Regions from separate parts of the Homo sapiens genome. Here all the other regions are linked to region 4. The links are contacts of gene promoters, found by promoter capture Hi-C in human tissues and cell types (Jung and others, 2019). All regions are on one chromosome and are shown on one strand. Each heading gives the region's core, a stretch centred on a gene start or on the middle of the fragment in contact. The rest is flanking DNA. Distances are from core to core; before and after follow the strand shown. Region 1 overlaps BTAF1 (B-TFIID TATA-box binding protein associated factor 1). Region 2 overlaps BTAF1 (B-TFIID TATA-box binding protein associated factor 1). Region 3 overlaps CPEB3 (cytoplasmic polyadenylation element binding protein 3). Region 4 holds the start of IDE (insulin degrading enzyme).

What was found. The method cuts DNA at HindIII sites, captures the fragments that hold promoters and counts their contacts. A contact is called where the count stands out against the background at its distance.
Region 1: a contact is called between a fragment that was not itself captured here and the fragment with the promoter of IDE in region 4, in 2 of the 25 tissues and cell types used here (mesenchymal stem cells and stomach).
Region 2: a fragment that was not itself captured here is called in contact with the fragment with the promoter of IDE in region 4 in 2 of the 25 tissues and cell types used here (lymphoblastoid cells and spleen).
Region 3: a fragment that was not itself captured here is called in contact with the fragment with the promoter of IDE in region 4 in 3 of the 25 tissues and cell types used here (mesendoderm cells, spleen and thymus).

Annotation. Positions count from the first base shown.
Region 1 is chr10:91,959,842-91,964,641 of GRCh38, forward strand. BTAF1 (B-TFIID TATA-box binding protein associated factor 1) reads left to right here. Exons shown (of 38, transcript NM_003972.3): 10 at 1-39; 11 at 137-313; 12 at 2,697-2,837; 13 at 4,236-4,360. Among named protein-coding and RNA genes, the nearest start is that of BTAF1, 38 kb to the left of the region's middle. The HindIII fragment of the contact is 5,257 bases long and covers 1-4,127 here.
Region 2 is chr10:91,980,673-91,985,474 of GRCh38, forward strand. It overlaps BTAF1 (B-TFIID TATA-box binding protein associated factor 1), which reads left to right. Exons shown (of 38, transcript NM_003972.3): 16 at 971-1,120; 17 at 1,411-1,553; 18 at 1,915-2,089; 19 at 3,529-3,732. Among named protein-coding and RNA genes, the nearest start is that of BTAF1, 59 kb to the left of the region's middle. The HindIII fragment of the contact is 5,774 bases long and covers 1-4,802 here.
Region 3 is chr10:92,045,573-92,049,714 of GRCh38, forward strand. It overlaps CPEB3 (cytoplasmic polyadenylation element binding protein 3), which reads right to left. Exons shown (of 10, transcript NM_014912.5): 10 at 1,120-4,142. Among named protein-coding and RNA genes, the nearest start is that of BTAF1, 120 kb to the left of the region's middle. RefSeq lists an enhancer at 382-1,058. The HindIII fragment of the contact is 5,365 bases long and covers 1-4,127 here.
Region 4 is chr10:92,571,447-92,576,063 of GRCh38, forward strand. It overlaps IDE (insulin degrading enzyme), which reads right to left and starts at 2,647. Exons shown (of 25, transcript NM_004969.4): 1 at 2,476-2,647. The coding sequence starts at 2,573. RefSeq lists a silencer at 2,047-2,496 and enhancers at 2,997-3,056, 3,067-3,306. The HindIII fragment of the contact is 24,485 bases long and covers 634-4,617 here.

The sequences.
Region 1 (4,800 bases), core at 249-2,748, 610 kb before region 4:
TTTGCATTAGACAGATTTGGAGACTTTGTTTCTGATGAAGTAAGTATCATTTAAGGGAGGCTTTGCCCAATCAAATTTCAAATTCTACAAAATACGTTTTTTGCAAATATGAGTTTTCTTCCTTTTTCGTCTGTAGGTTGTGGCACCAGTTCGTGAAACTTGTGCTCAAACATTAGGTGTGGTTTTAAAACACATGAACGAAACAGGAGTTCATAAGACTGTGGATGTGCTGCTAAAATTACTTACACAAGAACAATGGGAAGTTAGACATGGTGGTCTGCTGGGAATAAAATATGCTTTGGCAGTCCGTCAGGTAAATATTTCAAGTTTTGAAGCTTATGTGGGAGAGTTTTTTCCCCCTTATAGTTTATTTTCACTAATTAGACGAAATGGCCGTAGATTCTTACTGTTACAGAGAAGCCAGTCTTCCAAGATTTGCCGTCTTGAGAGAGTGTCATAGAGATAGGTGGCGCTCATAAGAATTTAAGTATAAATCAAAAGATGGTTAGTTACATTGTTTGCTCTTTAAGTTCAAAGATTATTTTTCCTTTTTAATCCATTGCTACAGTTAATTCAGTGCTCTTCATGATTTGGTTTTACTGTTTTAACTCATTTAAATATTGAATACATGCTCTGAGGGCTATACAACATGGTGCCAAGTTATGCAGTATACATACAGGAGTAGACATCAAAGTGTAAAGCAGACAATCTGTATGGTCATGTACTTTTTACATAAACTGTCAGTGTTTTTTTTTTTTTTTTAATCCTTTATGACAAAGCTTAGAAGAAGAAAATGCATGTAGTCTTATTATTTTCATATAGGGAAATAAGTTCTGAAAAATTAGATGCCTTGCTGATGGTCACAAAACTAGTTAAGGTTAGTTAGTACTAGAACTAGAAACTAAATGGCATGTCTTATAGAACAGTGTTTAGTGTAATGTTATACATCATCTAGGATGAAAATACCTGCATATGCAGATAGTCCCCTACTCAGGAACATTTATGTTCCCTTAGTGGGTTATTAAAAACTCTGATATATTCTGGCTAGGACTTCAGTTCTTAGATTGGCCCACAAAAGCCTATTTCATATATAAATATATCTAAAGTCCTTTACTAAACTAATAAGTGCTGTGTAATCTATATATACACATAATATTTTTGTGGAAAAATTGATTCTGATTTCCAATATGAGATGCCAGTAAAACATCTCTTTTCTCCTTCTCCCTGCTTCTCCACCATAGATCTAGTGACAGAATTAGGGACTTCCACAAATAGTTGTCTTGACTCTGAACATAATGGGTCAGCAAAGAGTGAGTATTGACGAAAAAGAAGAGACGTGGAAGTAAAGGAGAGATTATGAATGAGGAGCTAGAGAGAGACCAGGACCTTTTCTTACCAGTTTAATTTCCCGTAATACTTTCCAGTTAGGATCAGCATTGTCAGGGTGTTAGGCATTGGCCTATATAGGCATTTCACTATCCATTATGGCTACTTAATGCTTTGTGCCAGCTTTTCTTCTCTTCCCATGCTCACTGTATAACAGATTGGAACCTCCCTTTCTGTCTCAAAAAGCAAGCTCAAAGGCCTTTTGAAGTTTTCTAAGATTGTCTTTTTTTTTTTTTCCCTTCTTTAACTGCCAATAACAAAGCATTCGTGATTCTGCTGAGAGACCTGAACTCTCTGTCCAACTCTTTTCTCCCTCTGCTCCCTTCCTTGCTTTTCCTGCCCCTTTTAGTGCTCTTCTCCCCTTGGCAGCCACCCTCTTACCCCCATAAACAAAACCTTTTTTTCTGTGTTCTGCACTCTAGCCTCTGTAGATAACAGTAGACTTATATGGAAATGGAAAGCACCTTATTTGTTTTTGAAATATTATCCCTATTTCGTAGTGAAACCAGTTCTCAGTGAGATTCCTAGTATATGATCACAGGAGTAATGTCTGGGGCCTGGTCTGTTGGGGGAAATGAAAAGACATTAAATTGGAATAATGAGAAGTGGGAAGGTATGGCTTTTCTTTCACTCTTCTCTCATTTTCCTTTTGGTTGTCGGTGGCATTGAATGAGATATGGAGGCTAGGATTCTGGCAGAGGGGTTTGTGTGTGTGTGTATTCACACAGAGAATTCATAGTCTTACGTATAAAACATGTTTTGATGTTTTATGTCTCATTGAATAAAGTACTTGATGCCCTTGTCTTTTTCAAATGGGATTACTTAGGCTTCTATTGATGTTACATTTTTGTTTATGTGATTGTTTTTTAGTAGGTACAGTCATAATGATGTTTCAGTCAATGATGGGCCACATATATGATGGTGGTCCCATAAGATTATAATACTGTACTTTGATTGTACCTTTTCTGTATTTAAATATACCAATATTTATCATTTTGTTAGTAGCTGCCTATGGTATTCAGTTCAGTAACATGCTGTGCAGGTTTGTAGCCTAGAAGCAATAGGCTGTGTCACACACATAGTTAGGCGTGGTATAGGCTATACTGTTTAGGTTTGTGTAAGTACACTCTATAATGTTCACAGAATGACAGAATTGCCTGATGTATTTCTCAGAATGTATCCATTGTTAAGCAGTGCATGACTATAAATATTGGAATTTAGCTGTCATGTGGCAAATTTAAATTTTAAAATGTTTAAGCACAGTAACTGTAGAATAGAAAATTAATTTATTTTCATGTACTGTTTTACAGGATGTAATTAATACTTTATTGCCTAAAGTTTTAACTAGAATAATTGAAGGACTCCAGGATCTTGATGATGATGTCAGAGCTGTTGCTGCAGCATCATTAGTGCCTGTAGTAGAAAGCCTTGTCTATCTTCAGACACAAAAGGTAAATTAAATATTTTTACAGTTTCTTACTATAGAGCTTGTTTTCATTTGGGATATGGAGTATTAGAAAATACATTGTGTACATTTTTCTCCTTCATCTTCAATTTTTTTTTTTAACAACAGCCCTCTGATGCATGCAATCTTGATTATATATTGTACTTTGGAAGAGTGAATTGGATCCATTTGTCTACTTTCCCTTCATGTACATAATATATAGGGAACTTCCTTGAGAAGAATGCAGCCATTTCTTCCTAATTTTACTCCTGGTTTTTAGATATATTGGATTTTTGTTTGTTTTGATTTTAGTTTTTGGATTGTTTTTTTAAATCTAGTCTCCCCTCCCCTCCCTGTCTCTCCTCTCCTCCTCTCATTATTAATTATTAATTAGTATTAATTATTAACTAATAAGTGCTGTGTAATCTATATATACACATAACATTTTCTTTCTTTTCTTGGGTCTCACTCTGTCACCCAGGCCAGAGTGCAGTGGATGACATGTAGCCCCACTCTCCTGGGCTCAAGCAGTCCTTCCTGCCTCAGCCTCCTAAGTAGCTGGGACTACAGACACATGCCACTGTGCCTTGGCTGATTTTTTAAAAGGCATGGTGGCGGGCGCCTGTAGTCCCAGCTACTCAGGAGGCTGAGGTAGGAGAATGGCGTGAACCCGGGAGGCAGAGCTTGCAGTGAGCCAAGATCGCGCCACTGCACTCCAGCCTGGACGACAGAGCGAGACTCCGTCTCAAAAAAAAAAAAAAAAAATTATTTTTTGTAGTGATGGGGGAGTCCCCCTATGTTGCCGAGGCTGGTCTCAAACTCCTAAGCTCAAGAGATCTTCCCAGTCTTGGCCTTCCAGAGTGCTGGGGTTACTGGTGTGACTCATCACACCCACCCCTCTAGTCTCATTTTTTGAAATGACTTTTTTAAAGATCTGGCTGACTTTCCACCTTATTATCAAAATCAGAACACAAAGTTAGAAGTACAGTAAGCAGTATTTTAAGAGCTTAAAAACTAAATTTTTTTTATGATGATTAGTACCATTTTAAATGCAGTAAAATTACATAGAAGAACATGTCTTGTGTCTCGATGCTCTGTTGTTTTCACTGTTAAGTTTTTTACATAAAATAGTTGTGGCTCTTTTATTTTCTGAATTCTACCCATTATGAGTCTGGTCAGGCAGGGAAGTATCAAAGTAGAGTTGAATGGCATTAAAAAGAAGGAATAGAGAATTGTTAAAGGCAAATAGTGTGACCTCCTTAACTTTACTCAAAATTGACACCGTCCAAGGTCATTGGAATTGCATGTGTTGTTGAATCAGTAGTGACCCCTGGGATACCATTTGGCAGGGTTTGTGAGTATTTTGTGCAAAATTGATAACTTTTCTTGAAAACTGATCTTATAGGTGCCCTTCATTATAAATACATTGTGGGATGCTCTTCTGGAATTAGATGATCTAACAGCTTCAACAAATAGTATTATGACTCTCCTTTCATCCTTGTTAACTTACCCTCAGGTCCAACAATGCAGGTAATTATTTCTAATTAGTGGAATAAAGTAAAAAGTCTTTACATACCTTTCGAGATAATTCAGCCTAAACATAACAATATTTTAGCACCTTTAAGAATAATATTATTTAAGCTGGAGATGCCAAAGACTACCGTTTTCAGAAGGCCTTGTCTTTTTTACTCTAGCCATTCGGGCAGCAGCTTACAAAGATCATTTTTTTTTTACCCTTGAGATATTTCAGTTATATAATTCATCGTCTTGTTCGTCTTATAATTGTTTACTTAGAAATATAATCATTGAATAGTATTTCCAGTTCTAGTCCTAGAACGTAGAATTTTAGCTTTATTTAGTAACATTTAGTTAACAGAATTATCATCGAACATCAGCTTTAAATTTTCTAAAACTTGCCCCTCTGTGAACTTTTTTTTTGTAATGTTCATGTCTTCAACTCTTGTTCTTGA
Region 2 (4,802 bases), core at 1,634-4,133, 590 kb before region 4:
GGAGATCTGCATAATGAGACAGAGAACTAGGCTTCTTACATGTAGCATGTAATAGTTAAGTTTTGATTGGCCATGCTTCTTCCTCTTATTATGTGACTTACACAGGTGTTTTAAGCACTTTCTGATAGCCTCAATACAGAAAATGAAATGAGGAAAAGATTGCTTTTCTCTAGCCCTCATCTTGCTGTTTATCAATATGCTTATAGATCCTGCAAAGTATCTTTTAGGATCTGTTGGTAATATAGAGTCTAATTATTGTTGAAACTTGTACTTTTTTCCCTACTTAGAGTGATCATATGTGTTAGAATCATTAAAGGAGGAGCCGTTTGATATATTTAATAGCATTTATGGGGGGAAATGGCACTTTTGTACCTTTATAATCTGTTAAATTACTCTTGAATTGTTGGCCTCTAAAGTGACTCCTTGTTAACAACCTTGGATTAACAGTGGTGATCTTGCCATAGGCTAGTCCTAGCCCATTAAATGTTAGGCATCAGGAAAGGTACCTTATCCTTATTAAGTAAGATCATGAATCAAAACTTATACTGTTTTAAATTTATACTAGGTTATTACCACCTTTGAGTTTAGCAGAGAATATTAGGAGCTATTTTTAAATGTGTGTTGAATATAGGACTGCATTAATATTGAGTCTTATGATATATGCAAAGGATTTATTTCAGTGACTTACTGAGATTTTGACAATTTTGTATTACTTTTATAGGCATGTTTTTTTAAAAAGAGAATTGTGTTCTTTTTTTAAAAAAAAACTTTCCTTTGCATGACTTTTTTTTTAGTGCACAAACCTATTAGAAAACAGTACTGTATTTCAAAATAAGCCTCTATATTGAATTTCTAAATTAATCTCTGTGCTATTTCCTACTTAAAAAAACCTCAGTATTCCTAAAGATAAGTGTTAGAGTTTATTTTTATTAGAAAAAATTCACTTTCATGTCCCCCTTTTACCCTGCAGGTTTGGATGGAACTGTTGAGTAAGGCTTCAGTTCAGTATGTGGTAGCAGCTGCTTGCCCATGGATGGGTGCTTGGCTTTGCTTGATGATGCAGCCTTCTCATTTACCTATCGATTTAAATATGTTGCTAGAAGTAAAAGCTAGAGCCAAGGTAAGTGTAGAGGGACATAGTGTATTTGTGTGTTCATCATCTAATTATTAATACAGTAACCATATTTTTAAAAATCTGTATTGCCTTAAGTGTGATTTAATTAACATAAGTAAGGAGAAACCGTTATTTTATTAGGACCCTGACAAAATGAATAGTAATGTTTATCCATTAAAATTTTGTGAAAAGAACTGTATTTTACTGGGATTATTTTAAAAATATCATATTTTTGTTGTTGCCTATTCAGTTTTAATGGTTAATCTTTATTGTTTTTTTTTCCCCTCCCTCTGTAGGAAAAAACAGGTGGTAAGGTGCGCCAAGGCCAAAGCCAGAATAAAGAAGTACTTCAGGAGTATATTGCAGGTGCCGACACCATCATGGAAGACCCAGCCACCAGGGATTTTGTAGTTATGCGGGCCAGAATGATGGCAGCCAAGTGAGTGTACATTAAGTGTCAGGTAGTCATACATTTACAAGTCTGGCTTTCAAAGGTTATTTAACCAACAGAAGATTCCTCTGCTGTCTCCATCAGTCCTTCCTTCCTTCATCACACTAATTATAGCCTAAGGAAAAATTAGAGTAAGCAAATACTTCTAATTATTTTAAAGCTTTAAAATAGGATTTATATCTTCTTATGAAGACAAGATAGTCATTATACCTTCTGTGGGAAAAGTTATGGCTTCAAAAAGCCAAATTTTGCTTCAAGTAATTATAGGAAATTGAAAAAATTTCCCGAAGTATGGGGAAACTTTACTTCAAGTAATTTCTTATAGTAACTTCCTTTTTCTCCCTCTTAGGTTGTTAGGAGCACTTTGTTGCTGTATTTGTGATCCAGGTGTAAATGTGGTAACTCAAGAAATTAAACCAGCTGAATCCCTGGGCCAGTTACTACTCTTCCATTTGAACTCCAAGTCTGCTTTACAGAGGATTAGTGTAGCTTTGGTAATCTGTGAATGGGCTGCTTTACAAAAGGTAAGATTTTGCCCCAAAAGTAATAAAGACAAATTAAGTAAACCAATTTCCATTAGCTGTTAGGATTATTTACAACAGAAAAGTGAAAATTTTCGATGTATAAAAATCCAAGAGTTACAGAAAAGTGTCCAAATTATATTGAAGATTATTTCTCTCCCATTTACTTTTAACTCTGGACTTTTGTCTTAGAACCCCTACTCATACTTCCAACTACTAGTTATGCTCATACTTAATATTTGCTGTTGACTGTACAGTCTGTTAAGAAATATCCCTATTAAAAACCGCGTATATGTGAAAGTAGTCCAGAAACTATTGGTCATCCATTCCTCTATATGTCACTCAGGTATCACTGAAAACTACAAAGGATGAGGCTTTGAGTATTAGACATCCATCTGTGTGGGTAGTAGCAAAGGCAGAATTTTTGGTCACAGGAAGAATAACATCTCTGTATTTAAACCAAAATCTTCATGTTTCCAAATAAACCATTCCCTTCCAGCCTCTTTAACCGTTAACTTCTAGGGAGATGTATGATTTTGTATAAGACATACTTCTGTAAATCAAAGAAACTTTCTACTGGCTTTGTTTATTCCATTGACTGGAATTCTGGAAATTTAACTGTCTGCACTTGCTGTGAGAGTTACTTGTTACTGCCTGTTAGCAGTTTGTCAAAGCTGTATCTAAAAGTAATTGAGCCATGCTCCATTGCAGCTGACACCCCTGCTTGGCCTCTGGAAAGAAGCAAAGCTCATCTGTTTTTAGGCAGGAGTTGGTGTGCTGGAGAGGCAGTGATGCTATGTTTTTGTGCCTCTCAGACTTAGCAGCAAGTGTTGACAGTTAGGTTTCTGGACACTCACAGAGCTTCATGGACTTACTCTGTGAAGCCCAGGCTGATAACTGAGATGCCACAGAACCCCTCATGGCTCACCACTGAGGCCATTTCCTGTTGGTTTGGGGCAGGCAACAACCAGAGAGAGTGGGAAGGGTTAGTTAAATTTGGGGATAGATAAGTAGCTTTTAAAATTTATATCCACTTTTACAGTATGGCATGTGAAGCTTAGGGTTCAACTGTTATCTAATAATGAGTTTTTAAATAACATTTTTAATTAGTGCTTGATAGATTTCTTTTCTGATTTTTTTTTTTTTTACCATAATACACTTTAAAATCTGTGATATATATACACGTGTAAACTTTGGATAGGTAGAAAATGAAGTTGTAATAGTTCTGTGTGCATGTTCTGTAGTCATTCATGTTAAAATTTTACAATAATTTGGATGTAATACCTTTTTTTCTGTGCAATTAACTGTTGTTTGGAGAAGTAACAGAATATAGATTCAGTACAAGTAAGAATTTAGAACTTGGTAGTCTACAAATGACGATTTCTGTATCTATAAAGTTAATGTTCATACAGTTACCCTATTTGTTTTCTGTTGTATTTTAGGAGTGTAAAGCTGTTACCTTAGCTGTGCAGCCGCGTTTACTTGATATCCTTTCAGAACATTTATATTATGACGAAATTGCCGTTCCATTCACACGAATGCAGAATGAATGTAAACAACTTATATCATCATTAGCTGATGTACATATTGAAGTTGGTAATCGAGTAAACAACAATGTTTTAACAATAGATCAAGCTAGTGACTTGGTGAGTAAAGAAATAACTTTCTTAATTAGAGATAGAACATGAAATATAGGTTAGAAATTTGTCATGACATGTTTATCACAAAAACACATTAGTTTGTTGAGTCTGTATGTGGCTTGGTAGCCTGTCATCTCTACCCTTGAGAAAGGTTATTTCATTGTATAGGCTTTTCTTGAAATAAGAGAATAACAAAGAATTTTTTTTAAACCAAAATTCTGATAAATCAATGCACCTTTATTAGAAAAAGCTATTATATTTTGTCATTTCAGTTTTGCTTAACACTGCAGAGTATAGAAAAAACTGCTTCTACAAGTTCCTGAGTACTTCTTCCTGCTCTCAGCCTATAATGAAAATATTCAAACATATAGAAAAAGTGATGAAATTACATAACACTCATACTTAACAGCTAGATTTTATAGTTAACATTTTACCTAATTTACTTTATCACATACGTATTCACCTGCCTACCTCTCTATCCAACCATGAATCCATCCAGGGCAGTTTTTTTAAATGCGTTTCTAAGTAAGTTTCAGATATCAGTATACTTCAGGATTTTATATAATTAACTAAAATTCAGTATTTGTTTATTTTTTTTTGCTGTTCTGAGGAAAAATTTATGTGCTAAAGCACACAAATCTTAGGTGGACCATTTGGTGAATTTTGACAGATGCATATGCCTATGAAACCTGAACCACTGTCAAGATACAGAACATTATCATCACCACTTCCCAGTAATCTCTGCCTCTCCCTGCCACCGAGTAACCATTATTCTAATTCCCCCCCGAAGATACATTACTTTTGCCTGTTCTAGAATTTCATGTAAATGAAATCATACACTGTGCTCTTTGGTGTAAGGATTTTTCTTAGAATGGTATTTTTGAAACTAATCTGTGTTATATATATATATATCAATAACTTATTTTTTTTATTGCTTGAGTTTTATTTCATTGTATTATTATACCACAACTAGTTTAAGCCATTCTCCCGTTTATGGACACTTTGGCTGTTACCACTTTTTGTCTGTTGTGAAAAAAGTCACTATAAACGTTCTTCTGCAAGTCTTTGTGGACATC
Region 3 (4,142 bases), core at 195-2,694, 530 kb before region 4:
CCAAACGTTCCATCCGATCCCAGCGGCACAAGGGCTGAGCCTCCTGGTTTCCCTAGGTGAATAGGGGGCACCTGCTCCCTGCCAGGTGAAAGCTGGTGCTGAATAGAGCAACGTGCAAAGCTGAGCCTCGCGCAGAGCCAGGAGCGACTCCCCCAGGGTGGGCCCTGAGCTGCCCTTCAGGCCCGGTGGCACGGAGGGGCGCGGGTCACCGGCCCGGGTGAGCTTACCTGCAGGGCTGCGGCCAGGAGGAAATGCGCCACCGCCCAGGCCAGGGCCCCTGGGTGCGGGAGGGGCAGAACGTGGGACCTGGAGCGGGGACCGAAAGGGTGCGGGCGGGAGACTATGGGTGGGGCGGCCTGGGAGGGAGCCTGAGACAAGACCCGACGCCCCCAGCCGCTCCACGTCGCTCTGCAGAGCGGCTCTCCAGCGGCCCCGTCCTCTTCCAGGCGTACTGGGCGCGCCTGGCCTCGACCGCCGTAGGAAGGCGCTGCATGGGCCTGAGGCACCGACACAGCGGTTTCCTATCATGGGGGTGATCGCCGGGGAGTTGAAAAATACCTGTGGCCAGACCCCAGCCTAACCCAAGTGAATCTGTCTCGGGGACCGGGCTGGGGGGACGCTGGTCCCTGCTTGTTCTGAAGGCCCCGCAGGGGATTCGCTGGTGCAGCCACTTGTGATCCGTTTTCTAAATGGATTAGTCAGTACATGGCTTCTAGCACACCCAAAATCGATAGGGATTTTTAAAAGACGCATTTTCTGAAAAATCGGAGAGCCAGGTGTGAAAGATAAAGCGAAGTGGCACACCTACCTTTCCACTGTTTTGGTTGCGATTTTGAGAATTGGTTTCATGTAGCAAGTCTGGCATAAAAACCCAACTGCACCTCTAAAAAGGTGTGTTCACATGTGTCAACAAATACTTTGTTGCAAATATACTTGCATGTTTTTCATAAACGAGTGTTACTTGTGTCAGAGAAAGGGTGAATTCTGCTGTACTTAGTCTGCTTTAAAGGGATTTGTCAAAAAAAAGAGTTAAGCAAATTGGAATGCACCAATGTTCCCAGATGTGAACCATATACTCCAAGTTATTCCTCAGCAAATGCAACGGATGACAAGTGTCAGTACTTCATACAACTAGATTTAATAAGTTGTTATTACAGAAAAAAATGAAGTCCAAACTACAAAGTTTAAGCAGTTGTAAGCAGTAGCTGCATTGAGCTCCATGTTTAGTCACAGTACTGTAGTTCCATACAAGCAATATTAGTCCAAGCCCCAAAGGCAGAAGCTGAGTAAGGGTTACTAGCAAAAAACAATCTAAGAGAACAGGTAATAAAAGATACAATACATTTAAAATTAGTTGTTAGTTGAAAAACAAATACAGAGATCCTAGCTGTGAACACTCTAAAAGTTAAGTCCATTATTTTGACAGCAAAAAATACAAATACCTAATACTTTATACCCCAACAGAACTATATCCAGGAAAGAAAAAGAGCAGAAGTTATCCTGTGTTAGCACCCAAGTTTTCTACTTGTTGCAATTAACTTTGTCGTCATACAAATTTAAACATCCCCTAATCATGTAGCCACTTCTTGACCCATTTTGGGGTATAAAGTCAACAGCATTAATTATAAAACACTCTGTGGTAAGATGGAACACTATTGCAGCTGAGATAGAGAAGTTTGGTTATTATAAAAGAAAAAAAAAAACAAATGTTAGCTGACATACCATACAAGCTAGTGAAAAGCAACAATCCATTCAAATAAGCCAGTTTTAACAAAAAGATACATTTTTTTCACTAATCTGTGACTAATCTTTCACTCAAACCTTGCAAGTAGAGATGTCACAATACTCAAATATTTAGGTAGGAGCTTTACCCAGTTAAATGCCATTTTTGTTGCTAATATAATAGATAAAATGAAAACTAGCAGTTATTTGCTAATTGCATAAATGCAGTACATTCTGCATTAGCCCATGCCTCACTAACAAGCTATAAAACACAAGATATAGGCAGAAATCTAAGCATAATCTTTATACCACTAAGCAAGAATTTTCCACTTTTCTTCTGTTCCTAATCATTTATTTGTAGTTAATGTAAAATTCCAACCAGTAGTACCCAATTTGAGTTAAAATTTTACATCACAACTTGATCTAATCTATATATTATTTACAAAACTGAATACATAGAGCATACCCAAGACCAACTCTGGACACAAGTTTCTCTGAGTTATTGATGAACCTCGCCTCCATAGCGATGGAGCTGAAAGAGGCCATCAACCACTAGTAGAAACATATCATCTATCTGGATCAAGTCATTGGCTGTTCTGTTTACGCAACACCAGTTTTGCAGTTGTAGTTTTTGCTTTGACTGTAGGTGCTATTGCAATGACACATTAATGACTGTGCCTTAACTGCCCAGCTTCCAGGTGAGGAGGGTGTTGGAAAAGCAGCAGCAGAAAGGCAGACAGATCATGCACGCAGTTGCCACAATGAAAGGCAAGGGGCACCAGAACAGGAAGCAGGCATGGGTGTGGAGGAAGATGCAACCCGACACATAGTCAGGGTCCACAGACAGTGGTGACATCCGAGTGTGCTTCCTCAGTGCCACCAACTGAGCCTTACAGGGAGGCAGCATGAGTGAGACCCTGCAGGTGAGGTCTGCAGTACACCACGAAAGCCGTGTCCTCTTAGCAACTTCCTGTATGACTCCGATATCACCACTGTCAGTGCACATAAAAGATTCGGCCTGGGAGAAAGGCACTGTCTCACACAAGGACAGCAGTTGGTGGCAGTTTTTCTCTCTCTCTCTCTCTCTCTCTCTCACACACACACACACACACACGACATAATGACGAGTTAGAGGGGAAAAAGCAATGAAACATTCTGTTGACTTAGCCAGATTTTAAACCCAGTGGTACTTCGGTTGGGTGACTTCATTCTCAGGGCCACAGGTTTGGCTGCACCTGGTGTTGTATAAATCCACCGTGACATCCCTAGAGAACTGCACTGTGACATCCCTAGTCTTACACTAAACCACTGTGATAAAGGAAAAGGCTTCTCAAAATCTCACATGTTCTGCTCATTCTGTCATTTTATTACCCAATTATCCATTACATTTCCAATCACTTTACATAACCAAGCATTTTCATCGTTGTCACACTATTGTAAACCACATCAGCAAGTTAATACATAAAGCTTTGCATTTCAAAAAACTAGACACTTTAGTAACAATATTACAAAGGTTTTAGCTTCAAAAATAACTGAAAATGAAAAAAATAAACTTTTAAAGAATTAGCATCATAAAATTAATTTATTCCAATAAAAATACAAAATAATATTATGACATTGACCAGATATGAAAGTCCCTCCCAGAAACAACTCTATTAATGATTGAGAAAGCACTCCTTAAAGAAAATACGAAATAAAATGAAAAATATGTAAATATGTTTAATTTTTTTCTTAGCAAAAAATCTTTCTAAAAATAACAATGAAAATTTGTCTCAGTACAAAGGCTACATTACTATTGAAAAAATACCAGCATGAAGAAAAGGTACATATTTGACAGTAGAAAAATGATTTCAGTGAATCACAATGTCTAAAGTTTGCAATGAAAATAAATCTGCAATAAAGATTTATGCCTTTTTTCTTTTCTTTTTTTTTTCTATTTTTTATACAAACAGTACAAACAGTATTGCACATAACAACAAATAGTCGAGGTTAGGTTATAGCCTTCAAAAAATCGACTAGTTCAAGTGTCACACCAAGGAAAGGCCACAGCAGGACCTGTGTTACCCAGGGGCTTCCCAGTCAAGTTGCAGGTCAGAACACCTCTGTGTTTTAAAAAATAATTTTTTTGAAGGACCCTCTCTTTTAATATAACATTAACAACTTGGGGGCACATTTATTTACAAAACAAAAGGGAACATGTTATAATTTAATAAACTAAAAAAGTTCTCTTTAAAAAAATACAAACAGAAGAACTCTTTCACAATCCTGGTCAGTCGCGCACAATCAACACTTGATTAGAAATATACAAATTAAGGGAAAGTAGTTTCCACCATCTATTCACAACTTTCAGCACCAAATGGAGTTTATTTTTTGTAACCTATTCTTCAGGACAATGTTTTTTGCCTTCACTTTAGCTTTAT
Region 4 (4,617 bases), core at 1,397-3,896:
CCCAACTGACATACCACTGTTTCCTAAGCCTATGGAACAGGGAAATGCAAAGTAGGGCTGCCTGCAAAGTGAGATGACTGATGCCCAGGTGGCTCAAGTTGTTGCCAGGGAATGGGCTATTATCTCCAGGTGCCCCAGTAGTTCAGATAATTCCACACAGTCCCAAGTTATAAAATACAGCTGAACACAGAACAAGGAGGTTACTCTGTAAATGGATTGATCTTACATAAATGCTTTAAGACCATCTCTGTCTCAAGAGGTTAGACCAGAAAATGAATGCCCAAATACCAGCAGAGGCAGTACTTGTGTTTGCAAATACATAACAGTTAAGAGCTCAGGCTCCGATGCCAGATAGACATGGGTTAAATCCCAGCTCTTCCAGCAAATAGCTGTGTGGCTATCTCTGTTAAGACATTCTTCCGACTATGTACAGTAGGGCTGATTGCATTCCTTAAGATGAGAATATGTGGTAGCTTCAGATGTTAGTGCTTTCCTTCCTAAAACTATGCCCTAATCCCTTTGGTTGGACCTGTATTTTCCTCAAAAGCCTCACTCACTGATTTTAGGGTAGAGCTTTCTAGCTGGCTCATCTCATTCATTATGCTTTGAATCTCTCAAATTTCCATCTTTGAGAAAAACATATCTTAAAACTCTGGATGGTCGACCGGACTTTATAACTACAGAGAAAATGTAATTTTAACTAGAACATACAAACCACTTAGTTATACAAAACTTAAAATTGGTGCTTTCTTTAAAAATCACAAATGCTATATGCTGGAGACAGTATGGAGACAGCTAAGCCTAGCCTATCAGTAATGAATTTAGAACAAAAGCAGACTGACACAAAAGAGGACAAAAGGAGGCATCCTGCCTGTGCTTACCACCTGATTCTCTAAGTTCAGGGGTCTTTTGCACATTATAGGAGATTTTGTGATGTAGTGGAAAACAGAGGAGAACAAGTTCCATAGAGTCTTCATTTGTATTAGCTTATCTTAGTGCCCCACTGCTACCATCCTAATACAGGCAGTAAAGACTAAGTCCCAACAGGTTTCTCTGCCTTAGGACTCTCTCCACTTCCTGACATCCTGCACACAGCCACCAAACTACTTTCCTAAACCCCCAGTTCCATCAGATAACTTTCCAGCTCAAAAACTTTAATGGCTCCCTACCTACTACGCATTGGGAAAATCCCAACTAAAATTCAAGACCCAGGCCAGCATTACCCTACTGTTATAATACAGGACTTGTGTCCTTCTAATTACCCCAAGGAAATTCTATAAAGCTTCAACCAGACTAATCGGCTCACTGCTCCCCCAACACAAACTGCCCGCATATCTAGGCTGGATTACGCCCACGCCAGCCCTCACTCCAACCTTTCTGCCATTCCTTCCAAAGCCAGCCTACCCCCCCATCTCTGGCCCCACACACTACCCATACTACCCATCTTCTGACCCTCATCAACACACCCTTGTAGCTATCTCAATTCCCGTGGCATCCCAATCCGCTCCAATCAAGTCAAAGTTCCTTGGAAGGCAGACACATACTTTACATAGAGGGTCCAGCACAGTGCCCTGCACTTAGTAGGTGCTGGCTATTACTGATTAAAACCAGCAGGGGTTCAAATAACGTTTCTAGGGAGGGCAAGATAATACTGCCTATCTTCTTCCATTCGTAGTAAAAAGTATTCAGCGTTCACTACAAGCCTGAAAACGCCTAGCGTACGCAGATCAACGGTGCAGTGGAGAGGGCACGCCGCCGGATGGCAAAAAACCTGTGTCCTAATCCTGGTTTTGCCACAATCTCGGCAGTTGCTGGGAAATCAAGCCATCTCTCGGAGCTCCGGTTGTCTCCGACGTAAAACAAGGGAGCTGCTGTAGAGGATCCCGAGGTATCTTTTGGCTCCTAAATGTCCCCCGATAGGAAACCCCACACTCGTCTTCCAAGGCGGGAGGCAGGCAAACTTTTTTCCCAGCGCGGGCATTCCACACGGTCCTGGAAACTCAGTGCCCGGAGAAAAGGGCAGGGCTGAGGGCAAGGTGAGAAGCGGTCCCCCCGAAGTCGCCGGATTCCTTTACCCCACGGCTCGAGTCCGCCTCAGGTTCCCGGCCCCCTCACAGGCGGACTCCGGGAGAGTGACGCGGCGCGGCTCCCAGGTGCAGGCCGGGTGACTCTGTCCGCCCCTGCGCCCCCCGCACTAGTGGCACACGCCCCGTGGCCCCGGGTAGCGGCCCCGGCCCCTCACCAGCCCAAGGGACGTCCCCGACTCTGGACCAGGCCTCTGGCTCCCGCCTGGCGAGCCGCTCTTCCGGGCCCTGGGGCGGCCTCAGCGCGGCAGTACGGGCCCCAGGCCGGCGGGACGGGCGGCGTGAGGGGCAGCGGTGGCGGCTTTAAGTGCTGAATCACCACTTTGCAACCCGAGCGCCAAACCGCTGTGACCCACGGGGCCCGAGGGCCCGGGCGCTCCATTCCGCTTACCCACACAGGCGCTCCGGAGGCGGCAGGCGGGCGCCGAGGACTGAGCGGAAGGTGCTGGGCAGTGCGGGGTGCAGAAGCCACGCTAGCCGGTACCGCATTAGCCAGCGCAGTCGCCGGGATCACCGCAAACGCTTCCTGCTTGCGCTTCGAGCCGGCCCTGCGCACTGCGCATGCTCTAGCCGCGGCGCCGCGCGGTCTCCCGGGAGCTGCGGAGAGGTAGCTGCTCCGGGTTTTGCCTGGAGCCGGATGGGGCCAGGACGCAGGCGAGGACGGTGAAGACCGCGGACAGCCGAGGCCTGAGCAGGCGGACTGGAGGGACAGGGGTTTGGCCGGGGCGCTTTAGGAGCCAGCACCCAGACTTTCCCAGGCGGGGAGGGTCCCAGCTAGATCCCACCGGCCGCACTTGTGAGGGTGGCGACGTGTGTCTGACTGTGAGGGGGCGAGGGGCCGCTCATAAATCCAGTGAGGGCACACGGGGCTATGTTTTCTGAGGCACCCCCACTGACTAGCGTGCCGGACCCTGCAGGTGTTGGAACAAGGTTCGTGGTCGCGGCGGCCTCACGTAAAATGAATCCGCGGCCGGCGCGCGGCCCGCGGGCTCCCTCTAGAGCGCGGTGGGGACGTGGACCGCGAAGGCACAGATGCGCTGGAGACAAGGCTCGAGTGCGGCGTGGGGGAAATTCAGACGCAGGGGTCAGCGATAGAGAGGCCAGGACCCAGGGGGACGTTTCCATCCTTGGGGAAGTTAGCAGCTCTCTTAAGAGGAAGGTGCGGATGGGACGGGCGCCGCAGCAAAACAAGGCTTCAAATCCAGAGTAGAAACTACTACTCTTGTTAGTACTCCGTACTAGGAATACTACTAATGTCAGTCGGCTTCAGTGGTTACTTTTTAAACAAAGAATTTTCTCCCCAGTGGCTTTATGGGGCTTTGCACCCACGAACAACTTAATAGTTGTTATGAATCTAACTTTCCATAATACCTTATGGGAGTCTTTAAGGAAGAATGCTATTAGGGATGGTGACTTGCCAGCTTAAGTACTTTTAGGTTTCTGATTGACAGACGATCAAGACTGCAGCCAAAAACGGTGTCCTTAGTCCAAGTATTGCTTTAAATGGGAATTCAGTAGGAGGGTTCCTTAATCAAGTTGATGCTTTATCGAAGACGTACCCACGATCTTTTTAACAGTGCGGTTTCACCTAAAGGCAAACCTTTGGATGAAAACAGGTAAAAATTATGGCAAGCCTCCTAGTGGTGTTTGCAAGTGCATGGTTTTAAGAACCTTTAAATTACCAGTCCCAATGCAGAGTAGTCAATCACCTTGAAGCAGCTCCTCTGAGAGTGTTAATGCAGCCTTTCTGAATACATTTATGCTCCATTAATGGAATCTATAAATGGGCTGGGGTAGATTCAGACTTGGAGGGCTTGAAACATATACAATTTGGGGGACCTCTTTGAGACATAAAATACAAATTATAAATACAAAATTAGCAATCAGAAGATTACTATAGAGAGAAAATACATCACAACAAATACTCGAGACTTGGAGATTAGTACCCTTTTTTTTCCTGAGATCTCTTTAGGCTACTTATTAGAAATGCTTACATAAAAATGCTTCCAGATGGCCGGGCGTGGTGGCTCATGCCTGTAATCCCAGCACTTTGGGAGGCCAAGCCGGGCGGATAACGAGATCAGGAGTTCGAGACCAGCCTGACCAAAATGGTGAAACCCCGTGTCTACTAAAAATACAAAAATTAGCCAGGCGTGGTGGCATGCGTCTGTAATCCCAGCTACTGAGGAGGCTGAGGCAGGAGAATCACTTGAACCCTGGAGGCGGAGGTTGCAGTGAGCCAAGATCACGCCACTGCACTCCAGCCTGGGCAACAAAATGAGACTCTATGTCTCAAAAAAAAAAAAAATGCTTCCAGACAACAACTGGCTTTCCCTCTACAACTCCCAGTTTGGAGCCTGTGCAAGTGAGCAGCCCTGAAGTTTAAACTTCATTAGCTTCATGATAAATTTCCCTCTGGTTGGAGTAGATGTCCTGGATAAGAAAGATTAATATTAATATAGTCTCATAACTATCATCTCAATAAAGAGGAGGTGGATGGAAAGAAAAGTAACAATTTTGAGAGTCTACTCTG